Linked DNA regions of Homo sapiens: all the other regions are linked to region 1. Evidence: promoter capture Hi-C in 16 types of primary human blood cells and fetal thymus (Javierre and others, 2016). All regions are on one chromosome and are shown on one strand. The core of a region is centred on a gene start or on the middle of the fragment in contact, and the rest is flanking DNA. Distances in the headings are between cores, read along the strand shown.

The links. Contacts are between HindIII fragments. The CHiCAGO score rates a contact against its expected background, and 5 or more counts as called.
Region 2: a fragment that was not itself captured here is called in contact with the fragment with the promoter of GP2 in region 1 in 1 of 17 cell types (M2 macrophages); the score reaches 6.2 in M2 macrophages.
Region 3: a fragment that was not itself captured here is called in contact with the fragment with the promoter of GP2 in region 1 in 1 of 17 cell types (M2 macrophages); the score reaches 5.9 in M2 macrophages.

Annotation. Positions count from the first base shown.
Region 1 is chr16:20,325,620-20,329,436 of GRCh38, reverse strand. GP2 (glycoprotein 2) reads left to right here and starts at 1,924. Exons shown (of 11, transcript NM_001502.4): 1 at 1,924-1,970; 2 at 2,970-3,099. The coding sequence starts at 3,006. The HindIII fragment of the contact is 1,228 bases long and covers 1,572-2,799 here.
Region 2 is chr16:19,608,558-19,612,374 of GRCh38, reverse strand. VPS35L (VPS35 endosomal protein sorting factor like) reads right to left here. Exons shown (of 31, transcript NM_020314.7): 11 at 3,354-3,401; 12 at 1,960-2,053. Among named protein-coding and RNA genes, the nearest start is that of VPS35L, 55 kb to the right of the region's middle. RefSeq lists an enhancer at 1,954-3,153. The HindIII fragment of the contact is 3,228 bases long and covers 543-3,770 here.
Region 3 is chr16:19,644,096-19,647,912 of GRCh38, reverse strand. VPS35L (VPS35 endosomal protein sorting factor like) reads right to left here. Exons shown (of 31, transcript NM_020314.7): 23 at 2,964-3,027; 24 at 31-129. Among named protein-coding and RNA genes, the nearest start is that of KNOP1, 72 kb to the left of the region's middle. The HindIII fragment of the contact is 8,316 bases long and covers 1-3,817 here.

The sequences.
Region 1 (3,817 bases), core at 675-3,174:
AAGGAGCTTAGAAAGGAAGAGGCCAAGTTTCCAGCTTGGATGACTGGGAGGCAAGTGGCACCTTTGATTAAAATAGATCATACAATGAGGAGGAGAAGATTTAGGTGACTTGATGAGCTCAGAGTTGCACTTGCTGAGTTTGAGGTGTCTCAAGCATCTCAGCGGCAGTGAGAGGTCCAGCAATCAATAGGTAGATGGAACTGAAGTTCAAGGGAGTAGCGAAAGCTGGGGATACGGATTCAGAACTCACCAGCCTGGAGATGGTATGTGAAACCATGAGATAACTTGATACCTCCCAGGGAGAGTTTATGACGTGAAAAGAAAAATGGGACCTAACCAGCATTCTTAGAGACAGGATCTTGTAGCAACAGAGCAGAAATCTCCAGGTAGAAACAGGAGAATCAAGAAAATATGAACATGCGGAGTCAAGGAAATGCAAGGTACCCGGAACAAGCAGTAGGCAAATCCAATCACAAAGGAGCAGAAACAAACTACCCAGTGGATTTGGCTATAAAGTTGTAGCTACATGGTTCAGATTGGAATGGAGAAGCCAGAAGAGGGATGGAGGAACTGACTTTGAAAAGGAGGAACATCGCCTTATCAGAAGTTGGAGGGGGAAGGGGTGGAGGATGGAGACCAGTATTTATATGTTTACAGGGGAAGGAGCAAGGTCAGGTGTTGTGGCCTAAATTGTTTTTGAAGTAGGGTACCAGATATCTGCTGAGAAAGGTGGTGTGAGTGGGTGATAATAGCTGCAGAGACCATTTAAGAGGAATGGGAAGGTTAAGAGTGGCCACTGGGGAGACTGGGATGGGCACCTGGCCAGACTGAATGGATCAGTAGGTGATTTAGTGGGCCCAGTTGTCACAAGTTCCACATTTTAGAGACTATTTATTCTCCAGTTGCTCTGGGAGTAGAGAAGGTGGCTTGTAGCACCTTTTCTTTTTCCAGGTTGAGGTTTTGTAGAAGGTGTTACCAATGCCAAGACCCTCCTGCTCCCTTGACTCCAGTTGCCTTGGCTCCTTAAGGAGTCCCAGAGTGACAGAGAAGAAGCAGTGGCCATTTTTTCTGCAAAAGCTTTGGCTCTTTTATGAAGTCCATGATTTCTACCATGTCATGAAAGCCAGGTCCAAGCCTGGAGTTAATAAGTCCAAGATCCTCTACAGCCTCTTCTCAGTCTCATGCCTTCCAATCTCTAGGGCAGCCTACATATCAAAAGGGATTTACAGGGGCTACTCTGGTGCTTCTTTTGTCCAAGAACCTTTGTCTGTCCTTTGCCATTCCAAAATCCATCATCACCAAATTAGCCATTCCAAAACTGCTCAGCATTAGAAATCCGGAGTTGGGTAGATTCTATGGACCAATAAATGGAATTTTTCGAAACATCCACACTCCCTTCTTTCCTTTCCTATGTGTCCTCTTAGTCTAACTGGCCCCAAGCTCAGTGGCCTTCAGACAGAAGCAGAAATGTTCCAAGATGATTAGCTAGGAACACAAGGTACAACTGAAAATCCATTGTGCAAACAAGTGCCTGTTTGATTTTCTCTTCACTTCCCTTTGGGTATTAAGCTTCCTTTCAATTCGTGTTTGGTTTCTGGTAATAAATATGGCACCAGTTTCATTGATTAATTATGAAGATTAAATGTGAGAAGTCAAGAACGCAAAGCAGTGCCCAGCATGTTCAGCATTCAGCACACAGCACTATTGTTTGTAGGAAGCATTCGCACAATGCTGAGACAGCTGGAAGGGTTGACATTGTGAGGGGAGGGCCCTTCTTTCACCATCCTTTGCGTAAATGGCTTATCTCACCTCCACTCAACAAGCCCAGTGTATGGCCTAGAACTCCCATCATACCTGTGCACCAATTGAGGAGAGACACATGGGTGGGAAATTGCAATAAAAAGACGGCCCACAGCAGGCTGCATTCCCATGGCTGGCCAGAGGAGGAACGCTTTGTGTTCTCATCGGAGGTAAGTCCTGCTTTAAGCCCCAGGAGGCTTCCTCCTAATCCTGGGAAATCTTGATCCACTGGACATGCTAGGATTCTTTGTTTCTGGAAATTTTTAGAACCCAGCAAGTAGTTTGGACCCTGGCCATTGTCAAGTGCTCCAGGTACCACTCTATGTCCAACTCAGTCATGCTTCCAGTCATCTGCGATGCTCCAGGCCTACGGACGCCACCCTCTTCCTTGTCCCAGATATTCCCACCAGGGAACTAGGTCTCTATTGGGATCTCATCTCTAAGAATCACCAATCCTGGGTGCTTCCCTATCCCTGCTGTCTCATAGCATACTCATGGTATCCCTGCCCGAAACCGATCTCTATTTTCCACTGAAGTCTTCCAGAGGTTGTAGGAAGTTATCCAAAGATTTGGCCATTTAGGGAAAGTATTTCCCAGAAAAGTAAATGCCATCCAAATGCTGGCAGGCTTTTTTGCAGCTCTTTCTTTCTGCCTCGCCACCGCCCCCAACCCCCATTGATTTATTTATTCATCCTTAATCCTCTACTGAGTACTCCTTGTGTGCCAGATTCTGTACTAGGAGCAAGGAACATGAGGCTCGGTTTGGCATGGTTCCACAGTCACAGAAATCTACATCCATAGAGGACATTTCAGGGGGCTCTTAGCAGCACCCAATGCATAAAACTAAGAAAGGGCAGCCATTACTTTTGTGTGCAGGTATTCACAGGTACCATATCCCTTTTTCTCTATCCAATCTCCAAAGAGCCTCTACTTCCACCTGAGCAGGGACCATCCTGAGACCTTTCTAGGACATTCTGCAGTACTAGCCAGCTCTAAGCTTGCCTTTGGTTTGCTTACTGTCAATTTTATCACCCATTATCTCGCTCTATCTGTCCATAAGTCACACCTACTTTGAAACAATGCAGCTCTTTATGAAGGAAGTCAACGGATCTGTTTCTAAGAACATAGACCTATGCCCTAATCTTATCTTGGTCTTTTCTTTCCCATAGCTGCATGGGAAGTCTGCATACAGCAAAGTGACCTGCATGCCTCACCTTATGGAAAGGATGGTGGGCTCTGGCCTCCTGTGGCTGGCCTTGGTCTCCTGCATTCTGACCCAGGCATCTGCAGTGCAGCGAGGTAAGTATTCTGCTCACCTGGCATCTCAGATGTCAAGGAAGACCTAGCAAGTGAGGATAGAAGTGCAGAGAAGGTGGCTCAGGTAAGGAAGAGGAATTGGCAGTTCTAAAGCAAAAACTCAGAGCTAGAAGTCAAGGGAAACATAATGAGAAACAATGGAAATCAAGTCACAATCTCTCAAAGAGCCTAATCAGAAATTCCTCTGAAAGGGCAGTGGGAGCCAGTTAACATAATTTCCCATGCCCATATCTTTGGGAGATTAGAGACCCCAGATTAAAGAAGATCAAGAAATACATAACTCAGTCACCTTGTGCTGGCAAGTGCCTTCTCCTTTTCCTGAAAGGGCTAGATTAAGTGATCTCTTTATGAAGTGGGCAATTCAGATACTTGCAGAAAGGAGTCTCAGGCTTAGAATTAGAGTGCAAATTTCAGCCCCTGGAGGAGGGTGGGAGAGGGTACTGAGCTCATTGGAGGCCTCCAGTGGAAAAATACAATCTAAGAATAACAAATGCAGTGATTCCTTGTCTTAAAATAAGTACATGCATGAGCAAAGTTTGAAAATCTTTTTTTCTGAAAGGCCCTTCTAATGTGTATTATAAGCATGTGCAAAGCTTGAAAATCTCTTTTTTTTAGAAAGCCCCTTTAATGTGTATTGTAAGCACATGATCCTGTGTGTGCACTTAGCTCCTTCTTCAGGCATCTACAGCATTCAACAAAA
Region 2 (3,817 bases), core at 907-3,406, 720 kb after region 1:
GGCTGAGACATGAGAATCGCTTGAACCCAGGAGGCAGAGGTTGCAGTGAGCTGAGATTGCACCACTGCACTCCAGCCTGGGCAACAGAGTGAGACTCTGGTGCAAAAAAACAAAACAAAACAAAACAAAACAAAAAAAGGCCGGGTGCAGTGGCTCATGCCTGCAAACCCAGCACTTTGAGAGGCCGGGGCAGGCGGATCATGAGGTCAAGAGATTGAGACCATCATGGCCAACATGGTGAAACCCCGTCTCTACTAAAAATACGAAAATTAGCTGGGCGTGGTAGCGCACACCTGGAGTCCCAGCTACTCGGGAGGCTGCAGCAGAAGAATTGCTTGAACCCTGGAGGCAGAGGTTAGAGCGAGCTGAGATCACACCACTGCACTCCAGCCGGGCGACAGAGTGAGACTCCATCTCAAAAAAAAAAAAAGGAAAAAGAAATATGCAAACAATATCTTTGCATCTCTCCCAGAGGATGTGGCATTGTGTTCTGTGCACAGTAGGGCCTCAGCAAACACTGACTTGGGAGGAGTATTCAAGCTTTAATATATTCAAAAGTTGTCCTTGGAAACACACCTGATATCTCTGGATGGAAAATCCCCCCCAGGTTTCAAGCAGTGGGCGATGCATACACACTTTGGCCTCTGCTGCAAAGAGGGAAGAGGATGCCCTTAAACGAAAGGCTTTTTCTTTCATTCTCAGTATCAAGAAACAGACCTATAAAAAGTGCCCTTCCTAATGGATATCTGCTCCTCACTCTGAGGGCACTGACTTAGTTTTTCGTGAAACTTGAGAGACCACAGGGCTTCCGACATTTGCTGGCTGTCATGCAGAAGAGGCAAATCACAGGCTACATGTTCTCGCCTTCTGATTTAATAAGGTGCAAACTCATGGGGGAGGCTCTAACTGCAGCTTTGTCCTCAAGGAAGTCTGGGGCTTATCAGGTGCAATGATCCCTCTCTAAGGATGTGCAATACTGATGGGACGATAGGGAAGATTCTCGTTGCTAGGGGGAGTCCTGACAGAGGCAAAGCCCCTGTGTGAGCTGAAGAAAACTATGGAGAGACCATATACTGGCCGGGCGCAGTGGCTCACGCCTGTAATCCCAGCACTTTGGGAGGCCAACGTGGGCAGATCACTTGAGGTCAGGAGTTCGAGACCAGCCTGGCCAACATGGTGAAACCCCATCTCTACTAAATATACAAAACTTAGACGGGCATGGTGGCGGACACCTGTAATCTCAGCTACCCAGGAGGCTGAGACAGGAGAATCATTTGAACCCAGGCGGTGGAGGTTGAAATGAGCCGAGATGGCGCCACTGCACTCCAGCCTGGGCGACACAGTAAGACTCCATCTCCAAAAAAAAGAAAGACCATATAACCTCCATTGGTTACATTTTTTCCATACACAAAAAACTTAATAGCTTAGCTGAAGCCTCACGGTGCTTTAAAGCAGGGCATGGGCAAGTAATTTCTAATCAGTCCCTCTACCCCCTTTCACAGCAGCCACCTAAGCCAGGCCACACAGACCCTGAGGCCTGCCATCATGTGGGACACTGCTCCCCTGCCAAGCAGAAAACTAATAAAGCAATCAAAGTCAAGACAAAGGAAGAGCATGTTTGAAGTCAATGAAAAGCAACCTGTTAGCCCAAAGGCCCTGGGAACCTCCTTCCCAGCAAGAACTGAGAAACAATTACTTCTGAAAACCAGTTCATTTGTAAGAAGATGACCTTAAACGTCCCCTAATTAGAGCTACAGTAAGTTGGTCTACTTTAAAATTAATTTTTAAAAGAAACCCTACAGTTCTACTTTCTGTGGCAGAGCCATGATCTAAAATTAGCCACTAATAAAGTCCTTCTCTCAATGACTTGCGGGGTGGTGGGGAAGGAGGGCCCTGTGTGAACATTCAAGGAGACGGGTGGCAGCCGTGCCGTCAAGGGCAGTGACTCGCATGGCCTACCCGGCACAGGTAGGCACGGGCATACACCGACACTAGTGGGTCTCCGATCCCTCTGATCATGCATGTCAACCGGGGCAGGCACTCTGAAATTCCCCTGCAAGAGACAAAAACAGGCCAGCATTATATTCGACGTGAGAACTCGCTGTTCTTTAATTTTTTAAATAAAGATAAAGACTTCCTAAATTTCAGGGAGGGGGGGAAAAATCAAGTTTCAGTAACAAACCAAGGTCAAAGTTTCAGTTTTCTAAGGCAATGTAACAACAGTCTTTCTCTTCTGATACAATTCATTCATTGAATGATTTCTTTCATCGTTATCATTTGCTCAGTGGTGGAGGCTAACCACATTTTTTCCCCAGTCGAGGTCACATTTATTTTATTAATTTTAACAGTTTTTGTCTTCAATTATTTTCCATCGACTGGGCACCCCTTGATCTTCTCTCCACATGTATTTTCGTTTGCCACAGATTTACTGTCCCGTACCCTGTTCCTTCCGTGAATCTCAGGCTGGCATCTGACATCCTCCAACCACCAACAATGTGAATTACAATTTATTTCTCCTGCAACGTATGTCTTCCCTCTGCCTAAGGCATTATCCTCCTCCAACTGGTGAGGCAAAATAATGTTTCTTCAGCCCCCATGTTATTCCCCCAAACTATTCCAGGCAACCCTAGATCCAAATCCAACACACTTGAGATAAATTCTAAATCCAATCGGTAGAGCTATCTGTGGAGCACCATGAATCAGTCACTCCCGGGCTTCAAGGAATTTATTATCTAGCTATCTAACATGACTCAGCATTTCACCTGCTCTGCAGAAAGCAGATCTGGGTCCCCCACGTCCTGTAACTACTCTCAAAACATTGTGATAAATTGAGTGGCATGGACCTAAGCCACTAAGGGCAAAGGCTTCTGCTTCTGACGTCATTTTCATCATCATCATCATCAACAGCAGCCAACATGGAGGATGGGCCCACCGTGTGCCAGGGGTGACTCTCATTGTTGCATGTGTGACCCAAAGGACCCCCTCAGACCTCTTCTTAGGGTCATGTTCCCAGGAGAGGGAGCCAGAGGTTCTGAGGCTGTAAGTAACTTGTTCAAGACCATACAGCTAGTACCAGTACAGCCAAGATTCAAATCCAGTTGAGCTGATCTTCCATGACCTCCTTAACCAACTTCTCCAGGCTTGAGTTTTCCTCTCTCTAATATGGGGATTAGGATGGTGTCTCTACTTCATTCAGTTTTCATTTGGATTCAATGAGAAAAAGAACAGAAGGTGCTTAACACACATTAAGTACTCAGTGAATAATGGCTACTATTACATTGCCATTACTATCTGTGTACACATGGGAGATTTTTAGAAATTTTATGGTTCTAGATTTTACCGAAGAGCCTTACGTTTTGGAGAGGAATTTGTTACATTTCAGGATGGATGCCTCCACGTAACTACAAAAACATCCTGTTAAGGAAGATGTTTTCCAGAAGGTCTACTCCCTATGGAGAAAAGACTAAACTATCCATGAATAGAAGTAGGCGGGTCTTAGGAGATGGGGACCACAGTGGCCCTCAACAATCCAGCGAACTAAGGTAGCTTATGGTTTCTACATATGGTTTTCAAAGTTTCATACTTATTTGAAATAAATTGTGGGAAATGTTATACGTTGATTCATAGTTGCATGCTGAAATATAAACTGGGTTTTGAGCATTTCTAATCAATGCTTTATGGGGAAAGAAAGAACTTTAGGTAACTAAGATGGAATTTATGTATAAGTCAAATTATCTGTTCTTCAATAGTAGCATTTGCCCTGCAAAGCTTGACCCTGTTCTTTCAAGTTCTTGGAATCAGAGAAAACACAAATATG
Region 3 (3,817 bases), core at 947-3,446, 680 kb after region 1:
GAGAAGAAACTAATGAATGAAAATACTTACATGAATCAACTGCACAAGAACAGGCTCCAGATTGCAAAACATCGACCTGGACTCAACATAAAAACTCAGCTGTTGTTCAAAATCACGGCCAAAGGAAACCTAGAATCAAGGAGAAAGACGCTGAAAGGGACAGTGGTATTTTTAGAGAGAACGCAGGCACATGGTATGACTGAAATATTATTATTGCCACCTCATCTTTATGACGTGGGCACTGGACTAGAACCTAAGAAGTCGAAGGGTATAAAACAGAAGCTCAGAGTGTAAGCAGAATTTTCCAGACTCTGAAGGAAACCACTGGAAAGGGAATAATGGGATATTGTTTGTCAGCTGTGGCCTTTTCACAGAACATAAATGTGGTTATTGGGGGCCCCTTGTCAGAAGGTTTGCCATCGTAACAGTCACACCTTTCTGCTTCCTGATGGGGACCCAACCTTGGCAGCTCACTGGTGGCTACAGAAGCCATAGATGGAAGTTTTTCCACCATTAAACATCCTCTCTTCTCCTATTTCTTCAAATTTATGAATAGCTGGTTAGTAAGAAAAACTTTACTGTACATCAATCATTTTTGTCCAGATGAGGTTTAACATTGCCATTTCCATTACAGCTATCATGTTTCATATCTGATTTCCTTATATTCTTTTCCATAATAACTTGGTAACTTTCAGACAATGCCGTAAAAAGATAAATACCACATGATGAGTACAAAAAGCAAGGGCAAAGGAGAGCGACTTGGGAAAATCCATATGTCTGTTTCCTAACACGGGAATTGAAAGGCTAATCCTGAATTTTCATCAAAATTGATATTTTACCCGCAGAGTCAGGTAGACTAATCAACCCGCACTATTGAACAAGTCAGAATTTCAAGGTTATTTTCAAAGTGATCTCGTCATTTTCATCTCAGTCAGCTTTGGTCCTGACTTTTCTATTAAAATAGAAGATATTTGCAGCAGTTGGTGTTTTGGCTTAGAGCACCCAGAATGAAGGTGAAGACTGTTCAGGCTGGGATAGTATAATGGTGGGATGTTCCCAAAGGAGGCTGCAGGAAACCTTCCCACTGTGCTTGCCCTTCTGCAATGTCTCTGTGGACTACCCCCCATCAAAAGGCAGAGCCTCTTCCCCTCCAGACTGGGTCCCCTCAAGACTGTGATTTGCTTTGACCCACAGATTGCAGTAGAATATGGCAGGGGTTTACTGTGTGATTTCTTTTTTTTTTTTCCCAAGACAGAGTTTTGCTCTGTTGCCCAGGCTGGAGTGCAGTGGCATGGTCTTGGCTCACCGCAACCTCTGCCTCCCGGGTTCAAGCGATTCTCCTGCCTCAGCCTCCCGAGTAGCTGGGATTACAGGCATGCACCACAACACCCGGCTAATTTTGTATTTTTAGCAGAGACAGGGTTTCACCATGTTGGTGAGGCTGGTCTCGACCTGACCGCAGGTGATCCACCTGCCTCAGCCTCCCAAAGTGCTGGGATTACAGATGTGAGCCACCGCGCCTGGCCTCACTGTGTGATTTCTAAGCCTTGGCCTTAAAATGCCTTGCTGCTTCTGTCTGTGCCTTCATAGAAGGCAGCACCAAGTAAGAGAGCTCAACTGGAATCACTGACTGAGAACAGTGGTGAGAAAGAGAGGACATGGAAGAAAACCAAGATGCCCCAGCCCATATCCAGCACCAAAACCCTGGAGAAGGGAACAAGGCCACTGTGGATCCTCCAGCCCAATCGTGCCACGCCAGTGCCACACCACACTCCCTGTAGCAGCCTGGTTACCAAGCTGATCCGCAGAGTTTGAGAACTAATAAAAAACTCATGCTGGGCGCAGTGGCTCAGGCCTGTAATCCCAACACTGTGGGAGGCCAAGGCTGGAGGATTGTTTGAAACCAGGAGTTGGAAACCCCTGTCTCGACCCCCCCAAAAAAAACAGCAAAAAAAAGCCCTGTTATTTAAAGCCACTAAGTTTTGGGATGAGCTGTTACTCAGCAGTAGATAAGTAAAACAGATGGGGAGTGGATATCTGGCGTTTTGCCTGCCCGGCATAGTTTCCATCACCGTCTGATGATCTGCATCAGCTGCTTCAGGACACACCTTCTTTCCACTCTCGGCCCTCCTGACTCAGGTCACCCAGGTGTGCTTGGGGCCACGACCCATGTTAATCCAAAGAGACTCAATCCCAGGACTTTGCTGGAATCCCACCTGCTGGGCTGCAGAGCTGGGGGGGATGGAAACCTGGAGCTCTGGTGGGGCAAGCCCAGCTGAGCCGGAGGCCAACAGGGCAGAGCCCAGGGCTAAAGACAGACAGGGGGCTGGGTGCAGTGGCTCACGCCTGTAATCCCAGCACTTTGGGAGGCCGAGGCGGGCGGATTACGAGGTCAGCAGATCGAGACCATCCTGGCTAACACAGTGAAACCCCGTCTCTACTAAAAATACAAAAAATTAGCCGGGCGTGGTGCCGGGCGCCTGTAGTCCCAGCTACTCGGGAGGCTGAGGCAGGAGAATGGCGTGAACCCGGGAGGCGGAGCTTGCAGTGAGCTGAGATCGCGCCACTGCACTCCAGCCTGGGCGACAGAGCGAGACTCCATCTCAAAAAAAAAAAAAAAAAGAAAAAAGACAGGGAAGGCAGGTCCTGATGACATCCCGGAGACCCTGAGCCCGGCTGCTGCTTTGGAGAGTTCCAGCCCCTGGACTTTTTGTCACATGAGCCAAGAAATCCCTCCTCCCATCACCCTCCCGCCCCCCACCTTTTTCCTCTTAAGCCAGTTTGTCTTGGCTCTCTTTGCCCCCAGGGGAGTCCTGGCTAATGTAAGATGTTTTCTAATTTCATTTTATCTCACTAAGAATGAAAAGCACCAGAGAACATAATGTTAACTGCTTTCGCCAACATAAGGATAAACAATTACATCACACTTCCAAGTGCACTGAAACTTCTTCCCTAATACTTACCATTTTTATAAATCCATTAATCAAATATGACAGCATTCTTTTCTCATCCTCAAGAGTGAGTGCACTAAAATCAATAATTGTACATAATTAACACGGAGGTAATAGATGAAAGTTTCTAAAGAAAAAAATACACAAGGGGTAAGTAATTTAACAGGTAAGAACATTTTGCATTTTCTAGATTTAAAAAACTGCCAACAGGCTGCTTATTTTTCCTTTGATAAAAATACATAATCACAATTAACATAATTTAAATATGTTTCTCATCTCCCTCAAATATGCTGTTCTCAAGATAGATTTATTAACAAGAAAAGAAAAGGTAACTTTCACTTCTTTGGAACTTGGGCAGCAAGGTCTAATGTCAAATTTTGTATTTCAGGGAAATTTCATTGAATATTTTATTTAAAAAATCTCCAGCGGGGTGTGCTGGTTCACACCTGTAATCCCAGCACTTAGGAAGGCAGAGGTAGCAGGTTCGTTTGAGCCTAGGAGTTGGAGATCAACCTGGGCAACATGACGAGACCCCGTTCTCCCCAAAAAGGAAACAGAAATATTTCCAATGTACAGCAAAGTTGAAAGAATTTTCCAGTAAACACCCATACACCATCGAAATCCTGCCATCACCATTTTACTTGTTTTACACATAATTATCCATTCCCCTCTCCATCCATCAATCCATCTTATTTTTTTGATACATTGTAAAGTAAATCTCAGGTCTCAGTTGCTTCTATTTAATAGAAAATGTAACACAAATATAAATAAGAAAAAGTCATTACAGTTTTGATTATACTTGGATAGTTAAATAAATAGTTATTTGGGGAATAAATAGTTCCCCAAAGTTATTTAAAAAAAAAATT